Regions from separate parts of the Homo sapiens genome. Here regions 1, 3, 4, 5, 6 and 7 are each linked to region 2. The links are contacts of gene promoters, found by promoter capture Hi-C in blood cells and fetal thymus (Javierre and others, 2016). All regions are on one chromosome and are shown on one strand. The core of a region is centred on a gene start or on the middle of the fragment in contact, and the rest is flanking DNA. Distances in the headings are between cores, read along the strand shown.

Region 1 (3,066 bases), core at 152-2,651, 270 kb after region 2:
CACGCCTGTAATCCCAGCACTTTGGGAGGCTGAGGCGGGCAGATCACCTGAGGTCAGGGGTGTGAGACCAGTCTGGCCAACATGGCAAAACGCTGTCTCTACTAAAAATACAAAAATTAGCCAGGCATGGTGGTGGGTGCCTGTAATCCTAGTTACTTGGGAGGTTGAGGCAGAAGAATCGCTTGAACCTGGGAGATGGACGCTGCAGTGAGCCAGGATCGCGCCACTGCACTCCAGCATGGGTGACAGAGTAAGACGCTGACTCAAAATAAAAAAATAAAAATAAATACAAAAACTGATAGTATGAAGATAAACCTAAGCACGAATTCTGTCTGACTTATAAAAAGCTTAGTTTTAAATCTTAAAGTAAAACTTATTATGGAATAATTTATTGTAAAAATTTACAGTTTTATGAAATTTCAATTTTCTACATGTATTCCCTTCTCTGCAATGAAATTTAAATCAAGGTAGTACCAGGCCATGTACAAGAATCATGTTCAAGTTAAATTTTTGATAGTGCTAAAAATATCTTTCTGATTTTATTAATTAATTCTATAAATGGAAGATTAGTGTTTTCATTGTGTTCTCAGGAAATATTATGAAATATATCTTTAAATATAATGTATGAACTTAACACATTTTGAGTTTTAAGTGATCTAGCATAACCATATGAAATTAAGGTACCAAATAGGATATTTTAGAATATTTTCTGTCTATCTGACCGTAAGTGTCCAATTCGATGTAAATAAAAATAATAATACAAATACAGTGATTGCTGATGATACTTCAACTTTGATGCTTCAATTGGTTAAATCTTATAGAAACCCTTAAAATCATAGAATCTCAGAGTTGGAAGGGAGCTTAGAGTTCCCCAGATCCAAACTTCTGGGCAGTTTACTTCAAAAGAACCCAAGAGAGAGATAGCTTGAGCTACTATTTCTGAATAACTTCTTATTTAGTAAGTGGATATCTATACCTCTCTTTCTAGTTTAAATTCTCTTTCATCTGTTTAATGACTCTAGTGAATATATCTTGCATGGGGAAAATATCATTCTAATCATGTCATGATATATTCTCTACATACACTAGCCATATTTTTTGCATAGATTTTCACCTTAAGTAATGTATAGAAGAGTGGCTTTTTCATAATATATGACTTAGCACAGTTCATAATTATTGCAATAGTGACTCTAAATTGCATGCATTTTATTTTTGTAGTACACATTGTGATCCTAAAGAAAAGGCACATATGGGACTAACAGGCCTTCAACAATTATTGTTTATTGTGTTCTTATTTGCGGCTACCTAATTATACAAGAAAGAAACTAAAAGATTGAATAGAACAAATTTACTGATTGTGAAATGTTGATTACCTTTGATACTTGACATACATAACGCTTCATCGTTGTGTCATTCATCAAACCTAGTCTAATCTTTGTTTTAACCATAATGTTAAATAAGGGTATTTAACGTTTAGCTAGGCTTTACTACCCAGCTGAGTGATGTAGGAAACATTATAGGTAGAATGTTACCTTGGAGGAGTAAAGTATAGATACAGCTGGAAAGTGTTGCAAGAAGCTGCTGCTTTATTAGCCATAAAGAAGTTGAGCTGTGTAATTACACTTAAAGCAAGAGAACTGCTTTGTGATCTGTGAATGCTTATATGGTAAAGTAATATAATTGGAACTGGTGAAGTTTTTATGCCTATGAGACATGATGAGGAAAATATAATTTTTATCTTAAGAAATTTTGCATTAGTTTTGTCTAGTACCTTTGGGATCCACCAGTGATTTTCATAGGTAAAAAGTCTATTAAATGATACAATATAATTAGATTTTACTTGCCATTAACATTAAATTCCAAATGTATCAAAAATATTATGAGCACCAATACCATCATCAGCAAGAATTTACTATTTGTGTCCTCCTATCTCAGGTTCTGAAACTCTTACATTAAGAGTTTCTTTGTGTGAAGAAGAGTTTCTTTGTGTGAAGCCTACTTTGTGTGAAGAAGAGTTTCTTTGTGTGAAGCCTTCTTTGTGTGAAGGGGATCATTAATAGATTTCAAAACCCCAAGAGTAATTAGACGGAAGAATCTAATAGCACTTATTACTCTTTTATATCATAAAGTAAAACTACTTTACAGATGAGGAAACTATCTATTTGATGTACACAATAATTTCTCTAAATTCTTTCAGCTAGTCAGTGGGTTGTTGAGCTAGAATCTGAGGAATCCAGATCCCATCCTTTCATTGATTATGTCACTAAGATAAGTCACAGAATCTTCTTTTAGGGAAGTTTTCAAGAATAGTAGTAAGCTGCTATCTTAAAATATTGATGTCAGTAGCCTGGGAATTTTACCACGTATGCAAGCATGGGATAAGACAACCACAGGTTTCTCTTCTGTACCAGTTAACCTGTTTTATGATTATTTCAAGTTGTGAATAAAAGCTTGAAAATTGGCAGGATCTGTTTGAGGATTACTCAAGGATATTTATTACTTGTTTCAGGAACAGCATCTGTTGCAGTTGCAGGTCTCCTTGCAGCTCTTCGAATAACCAAGAACAAACTGTCTGATCAAACAATACTATTCCAAGGAGCTGGAGAGGTATTTGCCTTGTGTAATACTTATGTTCTCCTAAACTAACATATAATTAGTGTTAATTGCTCATTAACTCAAGATTTGACGTATTCTTTCAAATTTTTAGTATATTATGACTGTAGGCTTTATGGAAGATTCCCAAATTAAGTACTGAGACATATTAATTATTCATAGGATAATTTAGTACAGAAGTAATGAGATATTTTTCACAGTTTTAAATTTGTGGTATTATCAAATGTTGCCGTAGGTATTTGTTATGCATATCTAAGGTGCCATACAGGAAAACTTTCCAATGTATGTGTATATATGCAAGCTTTTATGTATTTAAGCTGGTTTATCTGATACTGGCTTTTAGTATACTCCAGTGTTACAAAAACAAGTTTTTAAAATTTGACTCACAATTCAGTGTGTATGTATGTAACTACATATGTGTTTTTAAGAAAAAACATTTTGAATTAGGGATTT
Region 2 (3,063 bases), core at 104-2,603:
ATCATTTACCCAATGGAGAAAATTAACTCACACTAGCAATTGCTTATTTTAACATCTAATGAACACATACTGTATGCCAAGTATATGCTAAACAGTCTCACATTTTAAAACGTGAAAAAGCTTCTTAAAAGCATGCAGTTTTCCCAGCTATCTGGAAGAAAAATGGGGTACAGTATCCACATCTACCACTTCCCTCACTAAAGGAACTCCTCTAATATTTCCTAATAAAAATAAAATTCCATATGATACTTGGCCTCTACCTTCAAGCCTACATGTCTTATTTGGCAGGGATTTTAACATTCTCTCTTCTAAATTATAAACCAGATTCTAAGTATAATTCTCCAGCCAGCAAAATATGACTTTTATAATCCTCTGTGGAGACAAATGTACTTCGGATAAAATAAGAATGAATTTCAGAAGTCAGAAGGGTTAATAAGGGGTGAAAGCCCCCTAGACACAGCAAGCAGCTTCTTTTCAAATCAAGGACAGTGTAAAAATGTCAGAGCAATCAAGCGGGAGTGTTTCTACAACTTTTTAAAAAACCTTTTATTATAGAAAATTTCAAGACTACACAAAAGCACAGAGAAAAGTATTAAGTTGAGAGAAAAGTACAACCCCCATGTGCACATCACCAGCTTCAACTATTGTCAATATTTTGCCAATGTTTCATCCACCATCACCACCCCACACACTTTTTTTTTTCAGCTAGAGTATTTCAAAGCAAGTCAAAAGCTTTTCTACTTCATTTCGCCGCCTCATTTTCTAAACGTTTTCCTATGCTCCTTTTGCTGACCTCCGCAGCCAAGTTGATAAAAGGGTAGAGGGGAGAGGCTAGCTTTCATAGTAACCCCGCCAAAGAGACTTTTCAGGAATGCGTTTCATACCTTTCTCAATGGCATCTGTTAACAATCATAAAAATAAAGAGGGTCCCCTCTGGTACTGCTTAAGCAGAAAGAATTCCATTTATATTCCAATGCAAACATTGTTGTCGTTAATATTAAACTGTGCAGAGGCCGGCACACAGAATTGCCTATGGGAAGGGTGGTTAGTTTCTTTGAGGACTGAAAGAAAGTGTCAAGTTTGATCCCTTTCTTCAAAGTCCTTCAAAGAAGCTCTCCTCGGGTAGGTCCTGCCTTTCTCAGGGAAATTTCTAAGTTCTAAGGTTGTTGGGTTTGGGGAGCTTCATCTTTACCTGCCAGGCTTGTTTGGTCCCCGAGGGCACTGTCAGCTGAGATCAGAGCTCCCGAGGAGGCGGGCGGGGACGCTGCAGCTGGGAGCCTCTCAGCCAGCCTGAGCCGGAGGCCGCCCCGCCAAGGCCGGGCCACAGCACCCAGAGCTCGCCACTGAGACTGCGGAGGGGGAGAGAGCTGCGCCGCACCACGGCCGGGAGATGGGAGGGGAAAGGGGGCGATGACGAGGGGCGGGCGCGGTGGGATGGAGTGGGGGGAGGGGAGGAGGAGGAGGTGGGCAAGAGGAGACGGAGAGGGAGGGCGGAGAGGGGAGTTCCCTGGAGGAACGGGGCGGACCTGGCCGTGTCTCACCCCAGCATTTCTGCCCCCAAGCTGAATTAAGCATTAGGAAAAATTCATGAGTAGGTTCACAGGGGATGCCTGTCCCTGTAATAGTATGCACTCCTTTAACAGTCTCAGGAGTTGTTCAGTTAAGAGTCTCATTCCTCACTGCTTGCTGTTGAGACCCCAGGCATCTAGAAGAACGGAGGGCGTCTCCCCAACCTTATCCCAAGCTAGTCTCCACCGGGGACCTAGCTTCTCTGGATGCACAAGCCTCAGGGTTACCCCGACTTGTACCAGGCGCCCAGGCTGCACACGAGGATGGGGACCTCAGGCTGGGACGCCTGGACCCCCGGGAGCATCCTGCGCTGCCTCCAGGGGGAGCGCGTCAGTTTCCGTCTGCAGGGAAAAGGCTGGTTTTCCTCTTTGGGCGAGTAACCTTTAAGGTCCTTTCCCATCTCAGTCCCACCAGCATTCTAACCTCATCCGTTCTCTCGACCTTTTATTCTCCTTTAGGAGAGGGGTGGGGGCCACATGAGAAAGGAAGCTTCATTTGTTTAACAACAAATTCTAGTGGGTGACAGGTCTGGGGCAAGATGAACTGATACAACGAGAGAATACATAAACAAAAACAAAAACAAAAACAAAAAAACTCGGTCCTGGCCCTAAAGCAGGGAGATCGAGTAAGTGCACAAGTACTTACAACACAAGGTCTTAGCATGTCTTGTAACACTTGGTTCGTTAGTAGGTTATTGCGTATCTCAAGTTCTGTGTACTTTTAATGAGATTATAACATACTTAGCATTGTCCCTCGTTATACTCAACGGACTAGTTCCAGGCCCTCTTCCCCTCCGCCCCCCCATACTAAAATCATCCCATATTCAAGTCCAAGTCCAGCTGTGGGCCCTGGGGAACCCGCGTATAGGAAAAGTCTGCCCTCTGTTTAAGCATTTCTGCCTGAAAATACTGTTTTCTATCCGCTTTTGGGTGAAAAAAAAAATCTGTGTATAAGTGGACCTGTGCAGTTCAAATATGTGTCCAAGGGCCAACTATATATACAATTTCATTGCTGTTTTCTCATTTAGCATTGTTAACATAAGCATTTACCCATATATTAAAATCTATTGGTAATTTTTACCAGTTAGAATTAGTTCTGAAGCTCTCTGTCACCAATTAGATCATAATAGTCATATGCATCTTTGAATCACCACCATCTACCACAGGGCCTGGCATATAGTAGCTGCTGCATTAGACGTGGAACTAAAAAGTTTGCTAGTCAGATGGAGTGTGGAGAAGTCACAGAGAAAGTCCAGAACTCAGAATGGGAATTCCGCCTGACACTAAATAGCTGTGTGCCCTGGGCCTCCGCTTTTTCATCTGTAAATTGAGATGGTTGAGCTGGAGGAGTTCCAAGGCCTGCAGCTCTCAAACATTTTTGGGATTCTAACACTGTATAAATCCAGAAGGATTCACTGTGGACCCAGGTCTGCTTCCTTCACTTTATTCAGCATTCTCCACTAGCATCACAGAAAGCAAACTTCCAGGGCTCTTT
Region 3 (2,812 bases), core at 142-2,641, 430 kb after region 2:
TACAGCATATGACTATTTATATTTTCACTTTAGGTCTCAGAAAAGCTATACGAATAAAAACCTAAGACACAAGAGGTTTAAAAGCCCATAGATCTGCCAAGGTGACAGTGAAGCTGATTTAACTTTACGATTTCTTTTTTTACCAAGTAAATATACACAAAATTATATACGTTATTAAAAATTGTCTCTGAATGCTATAAAATCAGATTCTTTCTCATTTCAAATTCTGTGATTTCTGGTACACATAGCAATATGAAAATATTAATTTTAGAAAATACAAAACATAAGCACCATTTATAACTTGGAATGAGCCATTAGCAGGTAGGTGGGATTCTACTTTAAGCTTCAAATGGCAAACAGCCATAATAATAAACACTTAAGCACATACCCTTGAGTTACAAAGGATCATCCTGTCTCCAAAGCATAGTAGCCAAATAAACATTGTCCACGTATTACTCAAGATGATGATAATAATCACAGTTGATACTGACTTACAAATTACTCTGTGCCAGGCACTATACTAAGCCCTTTCATGTGAATTATCTCATGTATCTTCACAATACATCCATGAGGTAGATATACACATGAATCCATGTTCATATAAGGCAATTAGTGTTCAAGGTGCCACAGAGAATAAAAGGAAGAACCAGGAAGAACTCTGGCAGACTGACTCCTGGAATTGGCCCTTAATCAGTATCTTTCTGAACTTTTTTTTTTTTTTTTAAACCACAAGTCTTAATTCTCCTGCATGACATATTCTACCTCTCCTCTCTCATTAACTTTTTTCAAAAAACTTTTCCGGCTATATAGATTTCTTTCTTAGAAATTGTACTTAAAAAAAAACTATAATAATGTAAATACATATGTTATTCTTCCTAGACCTTGAATGAAGCACAGGGACCAAAGCTCAACTCAAAATACCCCAAGTGGTTCACCACTCAATACTGATAGTGTTTAAAATATAAGGCAAAAATGATCATGATTCTGATACAGAAGTTTTTATTTTTGGTTGTTATCTATAAAAGAGTGGGTTTTTGGCCAGGCATGGTGGCTCATGCCTGTAATCCCAGCACTTCAGGAGGCTGAGGCGGGTGGATCACCTGAGGTCAGGAGTTTGAGACCAGCCTGGCCAACATGGTGAAATCCCATCTCTAATAAAAATACAAAAATTAGCTGGGCGTGGTGGCAGGCACCTGTAATCCCAGCTACTTGGGAGGCTGAGGCAGAAGAATTGCTTGAACCCAGGAGGCAGAGGGTGCAGTGAGTGGAGACCGCACCACTGCACTCCAGCCTGGGTGACAGAGCAAAACTCGGTCTCAAAAAAAAAAAAAAAGTGGGTTTAAAAAAGAGACATGTAGCTTATTTCAAATTGACAGATAAAATTGTATTATGTACAATATAATGTTTTGAAGTATATACACACTGTGTAATGGTTAAATGTAGCTAATTAACAAATGCATTGCCTCAAATAGTTGTCATTTTTGTGGTAAGAACACTTACTACTCTTTGTATTTTTCAAGAACATATCATCATTAACCATAGCCACTATGCTGTACAACAGATTCCTTGAACTTACTCCTCCTAACTATATATCCTTTGACTAACATTCTTCCATCCTGTCATTTCCTCAAACCACCCCAGCCGCTGGTAAGCACCATTCTATTCTCTACTTCTATGGGATATACTTTTTAGGTTTTACATATTGGGTGAGATCATGCAGCATTTATCTTTCTGTGCTTTGCTTATTTCACTTAACACAGTGTCCTCTAGGTTCATCCATGTTATTGCAAAGAACAGAATTTTGCTTTTTGATAGGTGAATAGCATTCCATCATGTATATAAACCATATTTTCTTTGCCCCTTCATCTGCTGATAGACCCCTAGGCTGATTCCATATCTTGGCTATGTGAATACTGCTGTTTATGTGCACTTCTCTCTTTGACATACTGATTTCATTTTCTTTGGATATATACTCAGTAGTGGGATTACAGAATCATATGGTAGTTCTATTTTTTTCATTTTTTGAGGCCCCTCCTTACTGTTTTCCATAATGGCTATACTAATTTACATTCCCACCAACAGTGTGTTCCCTTTTCTCCACATCCTCTCTAACACTTACCTTTTGTCTTTTTGATAACAGCAATTCTAACAGGAGTGAGATGATATCTCATTTTAGTTTTGATTTGCAGTTACCTGATGATTAGTGACGTTGAGCCTTTTTTCATATACCTGTTGGCCATTTATGTCTTCCTTTAGGAAATGTCTACTCAGGTCTTTTGCATATTTTAAAATCAAGTTGTTTACTTGCTATTGAGTTCCTTATATATTTTAGATATTAACCCCTTATCAGATGTATGGTGTGCAGATATTTTCTCCCATCCTGTAAGTAGGTTGTCTCTTTACTCTGCTAATTGTTTCCTTTGCTGTGCAGAAGCTTTTTAATTTCATATAACCCCATTTGTCTATTTTTGCTTTTGTTGCCTGTGCTTTTAAGATCATAGATACAAAATCATGGTGCAGATCAATGTCACATAGCTTTTCTTGTTTCTCCTAGTAGTTTCATAGTTTCAGGTCCTATTTTTTTTTATAACCCAAGATGATTTTTGTATATGGTGAGAGATAAGGGTCTAATTTTGTTCTGCAGTTTATCCAGTTTTCCCAACACGATTTACTGAAGAGAATGTCCTTGCCCCACTGTGTATTACTGTTGCCTTTGTCAAAAACCAGTTGGTTGTAGGGCTGGGCATGGTGGCTCACACCTGTAAACCCAGCACTTTGGGAGGTTGAGGTGGGTGGATCACTTGAGCCAGAA
Region 4 (3,153 bases), core at 8-2,507, 330 kb after region 2:
ATTTCTATCAAGTTTGCAGGCTTTGTTCCCAGTGCTTGTCTGGGGATCCCTTTTTGAGAATCACAGATCTACAGGGGAGCATAGTAAGTATTATTAGATACCTTATCTGAATTAAATACACTATGGAAAGCAAATGTAACTCTGCTTATACAGTTGTTAGCAATCAGTGTTTTCCACTCAGTGCAGAATAGGAGGAAGACTTTTCTTCAGATTTTAGTTGTAGTAAGAGGTGTTCTGGATTTATCTGCATTATAGACCCTAAATTATTTGCTTAGGCCAAACCTGACTTGCAGATATGTTTTGTTTGGCTGGCTGCATTTGTGTGTTTGTCTGTGTGCCACTGTTTAAAAATTCCGTGACTTCTCTTATATATTGGAATCTCTAGCATCTCTTTACCAAAATCAGAAAATGTTCACACATGGCATTAGTCCACTACAGTCAGATAGATGCTGCTCCCCTAAAATAGGACATGCATTCTGGAACTCTACAGACTTCATCCAGTTGCCTCATTCATTCATGTTATTATGCTTTACTTAGTAAGCATTTAAAATGTCAGTGTAGTCAACCAATTTGAGCTCCTTTTCATTGAATTGCTTGTTTTGACATTTACTTGACAGTTCAGTTCTGCCACTTATTTATCCATTTCTTAAATACTGAGCTCTTACTCTCTATGCTCTAGGCTTTGGGACTACAGTATGAACAAAACCATAGTCCTTGCTTTCCTGAAGCTTGCATCATGTCCTTTCATCAATCTTATGATCCCATTCCTGACAAAAGCCTTTTACTTCTTAGTTGTCTCATGTTGAATTTGTCACTCTGCTGCTGTCATGGCTAAGGAATAGCCAAATTTTCTAATAAATTTGATGTGACAATTGCTGAGATTTCAGCAACTTTATGTAAATTTCACAGGCCAGTTATCTCTCAAAGTTATAATTCTTTGCTCTTAATTATCAGTGTTTCTTTTTATTGGTGGTATGAACAAATAAAAATCATTTCTGTTAGAATTAAAGCACATACATCATCTAGTGCTGATTATTTTTTCTATGTAAAGGAGATCACGGTCCTAGGTAAATTACATTCAGAAATACATGTAGCTTTCAAAAAACCTTTATGGGACACCTGTCTAGCCAAACCAACCTGCTTATAAAGTGGAATTTTATGGTAGTATTATAGCAAATATCAGCATAGATTTTGAATGCTCCTTTTTTCACTTTGCAGTGAAAGAATTTGACCTGTAAAAACCACTAATAAACTATGTACTATTTAAAGATTATACACTATTTAAGATTAAGACATTGATTTTTAGGTGGATAATTTTAAGAGAAAATTCTAAAACTCTTTATAATAAATTCTTAGACTGAAATGCATGTTAAATTATCCTGTGTGCTAGGAATGGAAATTAAGTCCAATGAAAGATGCTGTTCTTTTGATGGAGATGCAGACAGAATTGTTTATTACTACCATGATGCAGATGGCCACTTTCATCTCATAGATGGAGACAAGATAGCAACGTTAATTAGCAGTTTCCTTAAAGAGCTCCTGGTGGAGGTATGGTGGGGGGATTGGCTACCCTCTAAAACAAGACTTAGTAGTGAAATAGTTCCATATTTTACAATCATTTGTCAGAAGGGCACAATTTATGACAAATTCTTTACATTAGTGGGCAGAAAATTAAAAAAAGAGCAGTGGTAATACCCAGTCATTTGAACATTTGAGGCATTGGCTTTGGAACCTGAAGGTACTCTTTTCCTCCTTATACTGGCTGAGTTTTGTGATTTGAAGCTTTAGGAAGTTTTGCTTCCATCATAATTGAAACTTTGATGACAGTTCTGTGGTCACTCCATAAAAGCCCTAAATTCTAATAGGAAATCTCATCATCTGATATATTAACTGATTATGATAAGCTTAGTAATGTGAGATTTGTTTCATTTTGCTATTTTAGAAATAAATCTCAGGCTAGCTTTAAGTACACAATGTAATTGGAAATTATTATAATCTGGAAACAGCATACTTTAAGAATTTAATAGATTTTTTTTTTTTTTTTTTTTGAGACAGTGTTGCTCTGTTGCCCAGGCTGGAGTGCAGGGGCGTGATCTCGGCTCATTGCAACCTCTGCCTCCCTGGGCTCAAGCAATTCTTCTGCCTCAGCCTCCCAAGTAGCTGGGATTACAGATGCATGCCACCACACCTGGCTAATTTTTGTACTTTTAGTAGAGATGGGGTTTCACCATGTTGGCCAGGCTGGTCTCGAACTTTTGACCTCAGGTGATCCACCCACCTTGGCCTCCCAGAGTGCTGGGATTACAGGCGTGAGCCACCGTGCCTGGCCAGATACTTTTATTTAAAAAATTAAAGAGGTGAAGATCAGGAGATACAGGCTTCTTAAAAGAGGAATTCTCATAGAATTGTTTTAAATAGTGTTCAAATGTATTTTAGGCTTTTTTCCTGGCATACATGTAAATTTTCAGTCAGACATTTTTGGCATAAACTAAGGCACAACTGAACTGGCTGATAATTTTGGTAGCCTTTAGAACTCTCATTATATTTGTTTTTGTAGACCATACTTTTGATGGCAAGTTAAGTATCATTGTTTTTGTCTAGATTGGAGAAAGTTTGAATATTGGTGTTGTACAAACTGCATATGCAAATGGAAGTTCAACACGGTATCTTGAAGAAGTTATGAAGGTATTGAACCATTTTTGTTTTCTGGTAGTTTCTTAATTAAGATCATGTTTCTGTGAGAAAGATACTGCCCTCATAAAAGTGATTATGTTGTAGTGCATGAAGCTGAGCTGCTGTTCATGTAAAGGTAAAGAGAAATAAATAAGAAAAAATTTAGTTGTCCTTGATGAATAAAGGAAAACTTCTTTCCTTCCTTTTCTTGGAGTTTTCCTTTAGAAAACTTGGAATTCTTTCTCTGTGCCTTTGTAATGAATGTAAGTCTTTCTAAAGGCCTAATAAGCCAGTTTTATAGCTCAGGAATACTTTTCTTTAAGGGCCTAGAGTCACCAATTTCAAATATAAACATCAAGGAAGATAGCTCACCTATCTCCCAGTCTCAGGAGAGTTTAACTTAGGTGTTTGCGTCCAATTTGTAACTATCTACCTGTCACAGAGGTATGAAAAGTTTTATTACTCCTTTAGAGAAGGGCA
Region 5 (2,975 bases), core at 458-2,957, 410 kb after region 2:
ATTAGTCGGGCGTGGTGGCGGGCGCCTGTAGTCCCAGCTGCTGGGGAGGCTGAGGCAGGAGAATGGCGTGAACCCGGGAGGCAGAGCTTGCAGTGAGCCAAGATTGGGCCACTGCACTCCAGCCTGGGTGACAGAGCAAGACTCCGTCTCAAACAAAACAAAACAAAGATTGATATCTGAAAACTTCTAATCACTAAGGAGTTTTCAATTTTTAGTTTTTAGTGCAGAAAGTATAAAATAGTTTAGCAATACATTTTCTTTATATTATTTGTATATATATAGTAAAATTATTCTTACCTATATAAAAAAAGATCTTTGGCAAGTCGCTTAGGTCCAATTATTTTGAAGATAATTTCATATGTTTCAAGCGCCTTCCGATGAACTCCACCTGGTAATGCTGGATGTAGACATTGAGCTAGGCGTTTGCCTATGGTCAGCTTTTTGGGTACTACTTGGTACTTTGCATTATTTTGTAAAACCTTGAAGAAAGCATTTTAATGTAGTTGAGAAAAACAAAATATTGCATTCATTTTACTTCCATTTTCTAGCATAGTATTATAAAAAATGATCATTGTAGGTCTTTGTGTTTTGTTAGCTACATTTGCCTATATATACCATATTTAAAATTAAAACTGAGGAAATGTTACAAACTTTATTAATTTGTTTAAAAAATAAACTCGTTACCTGTTAACAGAATAACATTTTTAATGAAAAATGATATTTTCCAAAACAAATTTATGGAGAAGAGAGGTATTTTAGATTTTTTTTGGTAAATTTTTAATATTTGATGTGAGAAGACAGCTGGAATGTTACATGAACATGTAACATGGAAAGTTACAGCCTTCAATCCATTTTTGCTACTTTGAAATAAAGTCTGGCCTCAAAGTAGATATTTACAGTACTTGGAAGAGGTACAACCATTGTCCTAGTATATCAAATTACAGCAAGTAATTCTAATGCTTATAAGAAAATCTACATGAGATTATCATTGCCCATTTGTTTTTATAAACTGATTTTTCTAACTGGACAAAACAACTTTTTGTTTTATTTATTCAACCATAACATTTCCTTAGAAATAATGGTCAGGGCAGAATTTCTGTACAGAGACCCTATCTTACCAACCACTCAAAGGAGATTAGTTAAGTAAAGAAGATCTTATAATAAATGTAATCCTTTAGTTTGAACCTAGAAGTCAGTATTATAATCAAGTATTGATAGAATGTCACAAAGTGAAGACTCAGAATGAATACAGACTATGTTAGAACTGGAATTTAGAAGAAATATGCAAAGTCTTATTTTACAGAATAAACTGAGGTTGAAATAATAGGTTAGTGCAAAAGTAATTGTGTTTTTTTGCCATAATATATGAAATGACCATCAAAGGCGGTATGAGTATATATATGTAATAGAGCATATATATATGTGTATGTGTATATATATGTATACGTGTGTATATATATATATATATGTATATACACACACACACACACACACACACACACATATGCAATCCTTGCCTTGTTCTATCACAATTTTGGCTAAGCTTCATAAACAACTTGGGTATTCTTCTTTGAGTTATCTAGATACCATGAAATCTACTTTTGTGAATATTGGTTAATCTAAAAAACTAATTATGTACCTAATTAGGCAAATTAATTTCCATCATTTAATGACTTGCCTTTAAAAAGAGTTCCCAGTATATCTTCAGAAACAGACTCTTCAAAACTCTTTAGGAAAAAAAAGAACCTAACTACCTTTAAGCAAACTTGTACTTTTAGATGGAATTTCTTGTGGATGTTGTAAAGGAATAAAGAATTATTCAAACTTCAAAAGATAAATGTTAGAAGTTCTAACATCAAAGAGAAGCTTCTGAATCAAATTTTAAGACAAATCCTTGACATACTGAAAATGGTAACTTTTCTTTTTATGGTATCAAAGTGATTATCTGTCGTATCAGGTTGAAAACTAGTGTCCTGGTGTGGTATTGTGAGTGAGAGTGTGTCTGTAGGTTTTCATCCATGGTTCCTGGCTCATAACTCCCACAGCCCTTATTATAATATGGGGAACTTTGGGCCTCAGAAGCAGGCCTCAGAAAACAATTTCTCTCTGACTTTTCCTGCCCTCTTCTCATCTCCTTTTTCTCCCTAAGGCAGGAATCTTCCCCTGTCTCGGAGCTGGCCGTAACAAAATTCTCTGGACTACTTGGTCTCATTGTAGGTCAAAGACCCCTATTTCAGAAGGGGTCCTGCCCCATACCCAGAAGGAAGGAATGCTGTAGAGAGGCCAAGAAAAATCTGACAGACGGGCCTTGCTGGGTTCCCCCACTTAGTCTGTTAGTATTACATCATATCTTTTCTTTCCTATCACATTTCTACACAGCTGTCCATGCTTCAATCATGCCTATCCAATGAAGTCTCAAAAGGCCCAAAAGGATGATTAGAGAGTGTCCAGGCCAGCTGAACACATGCGGAGGTTCCTGGAGGGTGGCACTCCTGAGGAGGGCATGAAAGTTCTACGTCCCTTCACCCATACCTCACACTATGCATCTCTTCACTTGTATCCTTTGTAATGTCCTTTATAATGAACCAGTACCCTAAGCTCTGTGAGCCGCTCTAGCAAATTAAAGCTAAAGAAAGGATTGTGGAACTTTATAGCCAGTTGATCAGAAGCACAGGTAAAACAAACTAGGGCTTGTGATTGGCATCAAAACAGGAGGACAGTCTTATGAGGCTCAGCCCTCAACCTGTGGGATCTGATACTATCTCCAGGTAGATAGTGTCCAAATTGAACTGCAGCACATCCAGCTGGTATCTACTGTAGAACTGCTTGCTTGCTGGTAAGGGAGAAATAACCACTTGTTTTAGGGTTATAGAAATCTTCTGCATTGATTGTCGTGGTGAGAGCAGAGGAAAAACTATCTGTGTTTTCTTCCCCCACACATCTTAGTATGTATTTTAAGACAAACTTCTTTCCTA
Region 6 (3,163 bases), core at 566-3,065, 310 kb after region 2:
ATCTGGGAACAGCTCTGAACAAATATAAATTTCTCGGGTCTCTGAAACCACTGTGGTCTATAGAACAAAGTATATGCTATAGGAATAAACCCATCCCCCACTTATTTTTCCAGTAAAGAGTTATAATTTATTTCTTCATCCTCTGTGGCAATATACCCACATTGGATCCCTGATCCATAAAAAGAGGGTTATTCTCTCAGGAAGTATGAAGAGATTTGCAGAGATGAGTCCCACCATCAAAAGCTTTGAAAGCAGCAGGAGTGTGATTCTTATCACATCTTGCTTTAGCATGATCTTTGGCATATGTAGGAGGAGACAGATGGGTCTCTAAGAATGACTTCACAGGCTGGGCTCAGTGGCTCACACCCGTAATCCCAGCACTTTGGGAGGCTGAGATGGGCAGATCACTTGAGGCCAGGATTCGAGACCAGCCTGGCCAACATGGCGAAAAACCATCTCTACTAAAAATACAAAAATTAGCCAGGCGTGGTGGCATACACCTGTAATCCCATCTACTTGGGAGGCTGAGGCATGAGAATCACTTGAATCCGGGAGGCAGAGTTTGCTTTGAGCTGAAATTGGGCCACTGCACTCCACCCTGAGTGACAGAGCGAGAGAGCAAGACTCCGTCTCAAAAAAATAGAATGGCTGCACATATTCCGAAACTTAAGCAGATGGTGATTCCAACTGCAGCTGCTGTCATATAAGTTCTTTTTTCTTGGAGCAAATCAGAAAGTAGCTGGCTACTGATTTGGTCAATGCTTTTTTGTTTTTCCTTTATTCCAGTAAGTAAAGACCACTTGAAGCATTTTCTTTATCTCAGTAAGCAGCAATGTAGATTGTCTTTTTCCAACATTACATTAACTTTCTATGTCAGAATATCAGTCTCGATATCAGACCTTTGATCAGCTTACCACTATACAGGGCAGCATGCTGTATGCCTCCAGGTGATATTCTGATTGGACTTGGAGAATGGAGTCATGTTTCCTGGATGCCTAGTAAGATGTGTCATCCCAGAGGGTGAACGATAAATCCCATGAAAGCACAGAGCCTGCAGCCAAGTTTTGTAGAAGTCCAGTGTCTGGTACATGCTGGGATTTCCCCTTCATTGTGAGGAACAAATTGTGTACTTTGTTCCTTCTATAACTAAGGAGAACTCCCAGGGTTTGGTGGGTGATATGGTTTGGCTGTGCCCCTATCCAGATCTCACCTTGAATAGTAATAATCCCCATGTGTCAAGGACAGGACCAGGTGGAGATAATTGAATCATGGGGGTGGTTTACCCCATACTTCTCGTGGTAGTGAATAAGTGTCACGAGATCTGGTGGCTTCATAAAGGGGAGTTCCCCTACACAAGATCTCTTGCCTGCCCCTATGTAACATATCCCTATGCTCTTCCTTCGTCTTCTGCTGTGATTGTGAGGCCTCCCTAGCCATGTGGAACTGTGAGTCCATTAAACCTCTTTCCTTTATAAACTACCCAGTCTCGGGTATGTCTTTATTAGCAGCATAAGAATGAGCTAATACAGTGGGCTTACTTAAATTCTGTGTACCCTGCTCAAATTCATTCGGGGGTTGACCCAAATGCATCTAGTTTTGACTGGGATCAGAAAGAGAGGTCTCTCTAGCTGGTCCAGGCTATGGTGAAATTAGTTCCACCATGTGGACCTTATGAGGGAAAGCCAATGGGCTCAGAGTTTCTGTGGCAAATCAGGATTATGTATAAAACCAGGAAGTGTGAGCAACACTGTGCCCTCTTCAGACAATAACTATTCTTTTGACTTACTACTGGGCTACTTGAGATAAAAGCAAGTGAAAAAAACCTGTTCAAAAGGGTTCCATGAAGGCTGCAGACAGACACCATCAGAACCTTCTCAGGTTCTGAGAGGGGATGGATGGCATGTAAGGAGTTATATGTGAACGCTCAAGTTCACAGGCAATGTATGTTTGATTTAATAAGGAATGTTTTAGAGGTCCCTGTGTTGTGGTCTGCCAACTCATCTGGCCTACTCAATTCACTATGCAGGTGTCCTCAGCTCTTAGCCTAACACATAATAGACCAGTAAGGAATGAAAAGCAAAGAACATACTTGACGATATGCTTCATTTACTTCAGCAAACTTTAAAAAGACACTGTAACTTTTATAAATGAGCACATTTTCCAAATAACCATTTAAGAATATAATAAACAGAATATCCAGATTCTTAAGTTACAAGCAATAGAGACTGATTCTGATTTCCGACAACAAAAGGGAAGATGCTGGGTCATTCAAAGGAAATGCCAAACAGCTGAGCATTCAGTAGGTCAGAAATGAGGGTGGCACTAGAGGTTTAAGCAGCAAGAGCTCACAGCCATCTCTCCAGGAGGCTGCCAGAGGACAACTTGATTCCTATCACTTTCTCTTCCCAAATCACACAGGGAAGGGGCAGTTTCCCAAAATAAGCTGTGTGTGTAGGGGGAGGGGGTTGGGGAATGACGGACTTTTATTATGTGCTCATATCAGGCTGTGCAAACAACCAGCAGACTCCTATACATACAAAGTTGAGTTTTGAATTATACATGTACTTTTTTTTTCTATAAAACCTACACGTCCCCATAATACTATCTGCATTAGTTTTCCTGATAGGAAAAAAAGTATTGCAGAATGCTCAAATTAGACTTATTTATAAAAAAGTAGGTTCTGAAAAATCTCAGAAATAGCTCCAGAAGCAGTAGAGTTCATAACCTAGAATTTATTGCCTTTTCTTTACACCCATCTTTCTGTAGCTACTTTTGCTCATGTAATCAGGAAAAACACCTCTATAAGGTAGGTTGATGGCACATATTGATTCATTTGGATGGAGTTACATCTGTTGAAGGCCTAAAACTTGTAAATGCGAATTATACTTATTGATAGCTTTGTGGAGACTGTGGGGGAAAAAGATTCCTATACTTTGTTGTTTTTAGTGCTGGCAAACATTAAGAAGTGATTCCTTGGCAATGTAAGTCCTATTTCTTCCCTTTGCATATAGGCAAAGTGTCAGGCTCCAGCCTGAGTTCCAGCACAACCAAGGCTAGGATGGAAACATGAATGGCAAGCTGGAGGACCTGGCGGGGCAGGCCTACAGCGAGCCATGGGTTGAAGATCTGAGTTGTGCCCTGAGAGGACACTCATTGTGACCTA
Region 7 (2,824 bases), core at 248-2,747, 370 kb after region 2:
GTACATATGAAGATATGAGCAGTTAACTGCTCTTCACTGGCTACCGAATAATCAGAATAGCAAGTCACTACAAATATTGATAATTGTTTTGATTGAAGCAGTGTGAGGGCCACATGCAGTCATCTCTGCAATCTGTACTATATTGAAAGGACATTATTGTACAAAAAAAAATCTTACCAGCATAATTTCTGAAACAGAATTGTAAACACATGTGAAGAAGAGTTTTTTCTTACCTTGTCCTTGGCTATGGCTGGTGGCTGCTTTAAAACTTCTTTTACAGTCTGGATAACAGTTTCTGCTCTCATGACACTGATTGAACGAACCAATTCCACTAATAAAAGCTGTTCTTCACTGGCTGCAGGAATGACCTAGGTAATAAATCATTGTATGTATGTATGTATGTATATAAGTCTTTTAGGGGAAGTTACAGAAGAGAGTATTTTATGATCTCTTCTTTTTTTATATTTTTTAAATGGAGATGAGGTCTTGCTATTTTGCCCAGCCTGGTCTCAAACTCCTGTGCTCAAAATGATCCTCCTGCCTTAGCCCCCCAAAGTGCTAGGATTACAGGCATGAGCCACTGCACCCAGCCCTGGCCTCTATTTAATATAAAGACCTCTTCAAGTCCCTTGACTACTTTAGGCAAATTTTACTTATATATATATATATTATATATATATATATTATTATATATATATATTATATATATACTTTTAAATATATATATTATATATATAAAAGTAAAATTTGCATATATATATATATATACAATATATGTATATATTTTTTGAGATGGGGTCTTGCTCTGTCTCCAAGGCTGGAGTGCAGTGGCTCAATTACAGTTTACTGCAGCCTCAACCTCATAGGTTTAAGCGATCCTCTTGCTTCAGCCTCCTGAGTAGCTGAGACCACAGGCATGCCACTATGCCCAGATAATTTTTTAATTTTTTTGTGGAGACAGAGTCTCCCTATGTTGCCCAGGCTCAAAATTTATTTATTTTTCATCAATAAAGGTACATCACCTCAAAAAATAAAACAGAACAATAAGCTTTATAAGAAAAAATAGTATTGTCCTATATCCCTTCCCATGCCCCAAAGCAACCATGCTCAACTCTTTATGTTCTTTTCCATTACGTCTAAATAACATATACTACTATTTTTCCTATTTCCTGATTTTATTTTCAATTTTAGACATTATCTATTCATTACTTATTTTGGAAGACAAAGATGTAGCTCTCTTATACTTTTCTACCTATCCTCTCAACATTGTTATATCATATTTTTATTTAAATCCATATCCAATGTTCACATGATTATTTTTGGTTGCAATGTGCATTGTACTAGCATTGCATTTGTTTTATGGTACAACTTTTTGTTTTTCCTAGAGCTAATAAACTGCTTTGTTTGCTTCATTTTCTCTGTACCTATTAAAAATTCATCCCTACATACTTCAACTGTAAATCTCTAATTACATATTCAAATACTTCAGGTAATTAATTTGTATCTTTTCCTCCCTCTCTTCTCTTTTTTCCTTGAGACATTTCTGTTAGATGTCTTTTTATTCTACCCTGGGTTGATACTCTCTAGGTTTGCTACACAGTGTCATCTTGATATCTCTCCTGTTACCATTATCCCAGAGATTCCCCTTGCTTTCTCTTTTGTGTTGCAGCCCATTTCTTGGATCCCCTGTCTTCTTCATTCTTGGTTTATTCCTCCTCCGGTGGAGTTACATCTTCCAGTAGCCAAGAAAAAGTGAACTCATGGCAATTTTCCTTGTTGTTGTTGTTGTTGAGACATTGCATAGCTGAAAATGTTTGAGTGACAGTTTGGCTGGAGATAGAATTATGGGTTGAAACTAACTTCCCATCAAAATTCCCAGTGTTGCTGTTAACAAATCTCATCTTTATTCTTTGGAATGTGACCAGTATTCTTTCATTAGAAGCTTTTAGGATCTCTTCTTTATCTCCAGTGTTTTGAAATTACATGCTAATCTTTGTGCAGATCTCTTTTCACAGTGGTAGGCACAATCTGGAAACATATTTACTTCATTCCTGAGGACTTTTATTGTATTATTTCTTTGTATTTTTCTCCTCTTGTTTTTAAATTCTGCAGAAAGATACTGGGTCTCTAGTATCACTCCTCTAATATTCTTATCTCTTTTCTCGTATTTTCCGTATCTTTAAATTTGTATTCCATTTCTGATATTTATCCACTTTCTGTTCCAACCCTCCTAAAAATATTGCTTTGTTTCTGTTGCAGAATTTTTAATATCCATGAAAAATTTTAATTTTGGGAATGGTCTTTCCTATGATCTCCCTTTCTACTTCATGGTCTCACCCACTTAAGGACATTACTATTATTTACATTTTCTTCTGTTATCTGCACTGTTTGACTTTTTAAAATCTAGTTGTTTCAGTCTGTCTATCACATTAGAGACTTTATGTGACTGGTAATCCTTGGCTCTCTATTTCTATTTAAATATGAGGAATAATATAGCTAATATTTACACAGTGATTATTAAGTGCTAGGCATTGCTCTATGTGAATTACATATTATCAGCTGTAATATACCTGATAATTCTCCTGCCTCAGCCTCCTGAGTAGATAGGTCTACAGGCAAATGCCACCACACTTCACTATTTTTATTTTTTGTAGAGACAGGGTCTCATGAGGTCTTGAATTCTTGGCCTCAAGCAATCCTCCCGCCTTGGTCTCCCAAAGTGCTGGGATTATAGCTATGAGCCACTGTGCCTGGCTTCAACATGCCATGTTAAATCAAATGTTCTTTACTGCTTTTAAGTAGTCCAGGATTTAAATTTTCAATG

Evidence for each region. Contacts are between HindIII fragments. The CHiCAGO score rates a contact against its expected background, and 5 or more counts as called.
Region 1: a fragment that was not itself captured here is called in contact with the fragment with the promoter of PRSS35 in region 2 in 7 of 17 cell types (megakaryocytes, M2 macrophages, M1 macrophages and 4 more); the score reaches 21.3 in megakaryocytes.
Region 3: a fragment that was not itself captured here is called in contact with the fragment with the promoter of PRSS35 in region 2 in 3 of 17 cell types (megakaryocytes, M0 macrophages and endothelial precursors); the score reaches 7.9 in megakaryocytes.
Region 4: a contact is called between a fragment that was not itself captured here and the fragment with the promoter of PRSS35 in region 2, in 6 of 17 cell types (M1 macrophages, M0 macrophages, megakaryocytes and 3 more). The highest score is 8.9, in M1 macrophages.
Region 5: a contact is called between a fragment that was not itself captured here and the fragment with the promoter of PRSS35 in region 2, in 3 of 17 cell types (megakaryocytes, M1 macrophages and M0 macrophages). The highest score is 7.1, in megakaryocytes.
Region 6: a fragment that was not itself captured here is called in contact with the fragment with the promoter of PRSS35 in region 2 in 5 of 17 cell types (M1 macrophages, M2 macrophages, M0 macrophages and 2 more); the score reaches 10.7 in M1 macrophages.
Region 7: a contact is called between a fragment that was not itself captured here and the fragment with the promoter of PRSS35 in region 2, in 2 of 17 cell types (M0 macrophages and monocytes). The highest score is 6.7, in M0 macrophages.

The regions. Positions count from the first base shown.
Region 1 is chr6:83,239,080-83,242,145 of GRCh38, reverse strand. ME1 (malic enzyme 1) reads left to right here. Exons shown (of 14, transcript NM_002395.6): 8 at 2,510-2,607. Among named protein-coding and RNA genes, the nearest start is that of RWDD2A, 47 kb to the right of the region's middle. The HindIII fragment of the contact is 2,103 bases long and covers 350-2,452 here.
Region 2 is chr6:83,510,824-83,513,886 of GRCh38, reverse strand. PRSS35 (serine protease 35) reads right to left here and starts at 1,353. Exons shown (of 2, transcript NM_153362.3): 1 at 1,193-1,353. The HindIII fragment of the contact is 1,326 bases long and covers 735-2,060 here.
Region 3 is chr6:83,081,332-83,084,143 of GRCh38, reverse strand. All of the region lies in intron 1 of DOP1A (DOP1 leucine zipper like protein A), which reads right to left. Among named protein-coding and RNA genes, the nearest start is that of DOP1A, 15 kb to the right of the region's middle. The HindIII fragment of the contact is 2,091 bases long and covers 346-2,436 here.
Region 4 is chr6:83,178,205-83,181,357 of GRCh38, reverse strand. PGM3 (phosphoglucomutase 3) reads left to right here. Exons shown (of 13, transcript NM_015599.3): 7 at 1,391-1,548; 8 at 2,602-2,685. Among named protein-coding and RNA genes, the nearest start is that of PGM3, 13 kb to the left of the region's middle. The HindIII fragment of the contact is 1,054 bases long and covers 731-1,784 here.
Region 5 is chr6:83,098,209-83,101,183 of GRCh38, reverse strand. DOP1A (DOP1 leucine zipper like protein A) reads right to left here. Exons shown (of 39, transcript NM_015018.4): 4 at 298-479. Among named protein-coding and RNA genes, the nearest start is that of DOP1A, 32 kb to the right of the region's middle. The HindIII fragment of the contact is 323 bases long and covers 1,546-1,868 here.
Region 6 is chr6:83,197,859-83,201,021 of GRCh38, reverse strand. It overlaps RWDD2A (RWD domain containing 2A), which reads right to left. Exons shown (of 3, transcript NM_033411.5): 3 at 2,087-3,163. Among named protein-coding and RNA genes, the nearest start is that of RWDD2A, 6.1 kb to the right of the region's middle. The HindIII fragment of the contact is 3,139 bases long and covers 246-3,163 here.
Region 7 is chr6:83,143,068-83,145,891 of GRCh38, reverse strand. It overlaps DOP1A (DOP1 leucine zipper like protein A), which reads right to left. Exons shown (of 39, transcript NM_015018.4): 25 at 234-368. Among named protein-coding and RNA genes, the nearest start is that of PGM3, 49 kb to the left of the region's middle. The HindIII fragment of the contact is 894 bases long and covers 1,051-1,944 here.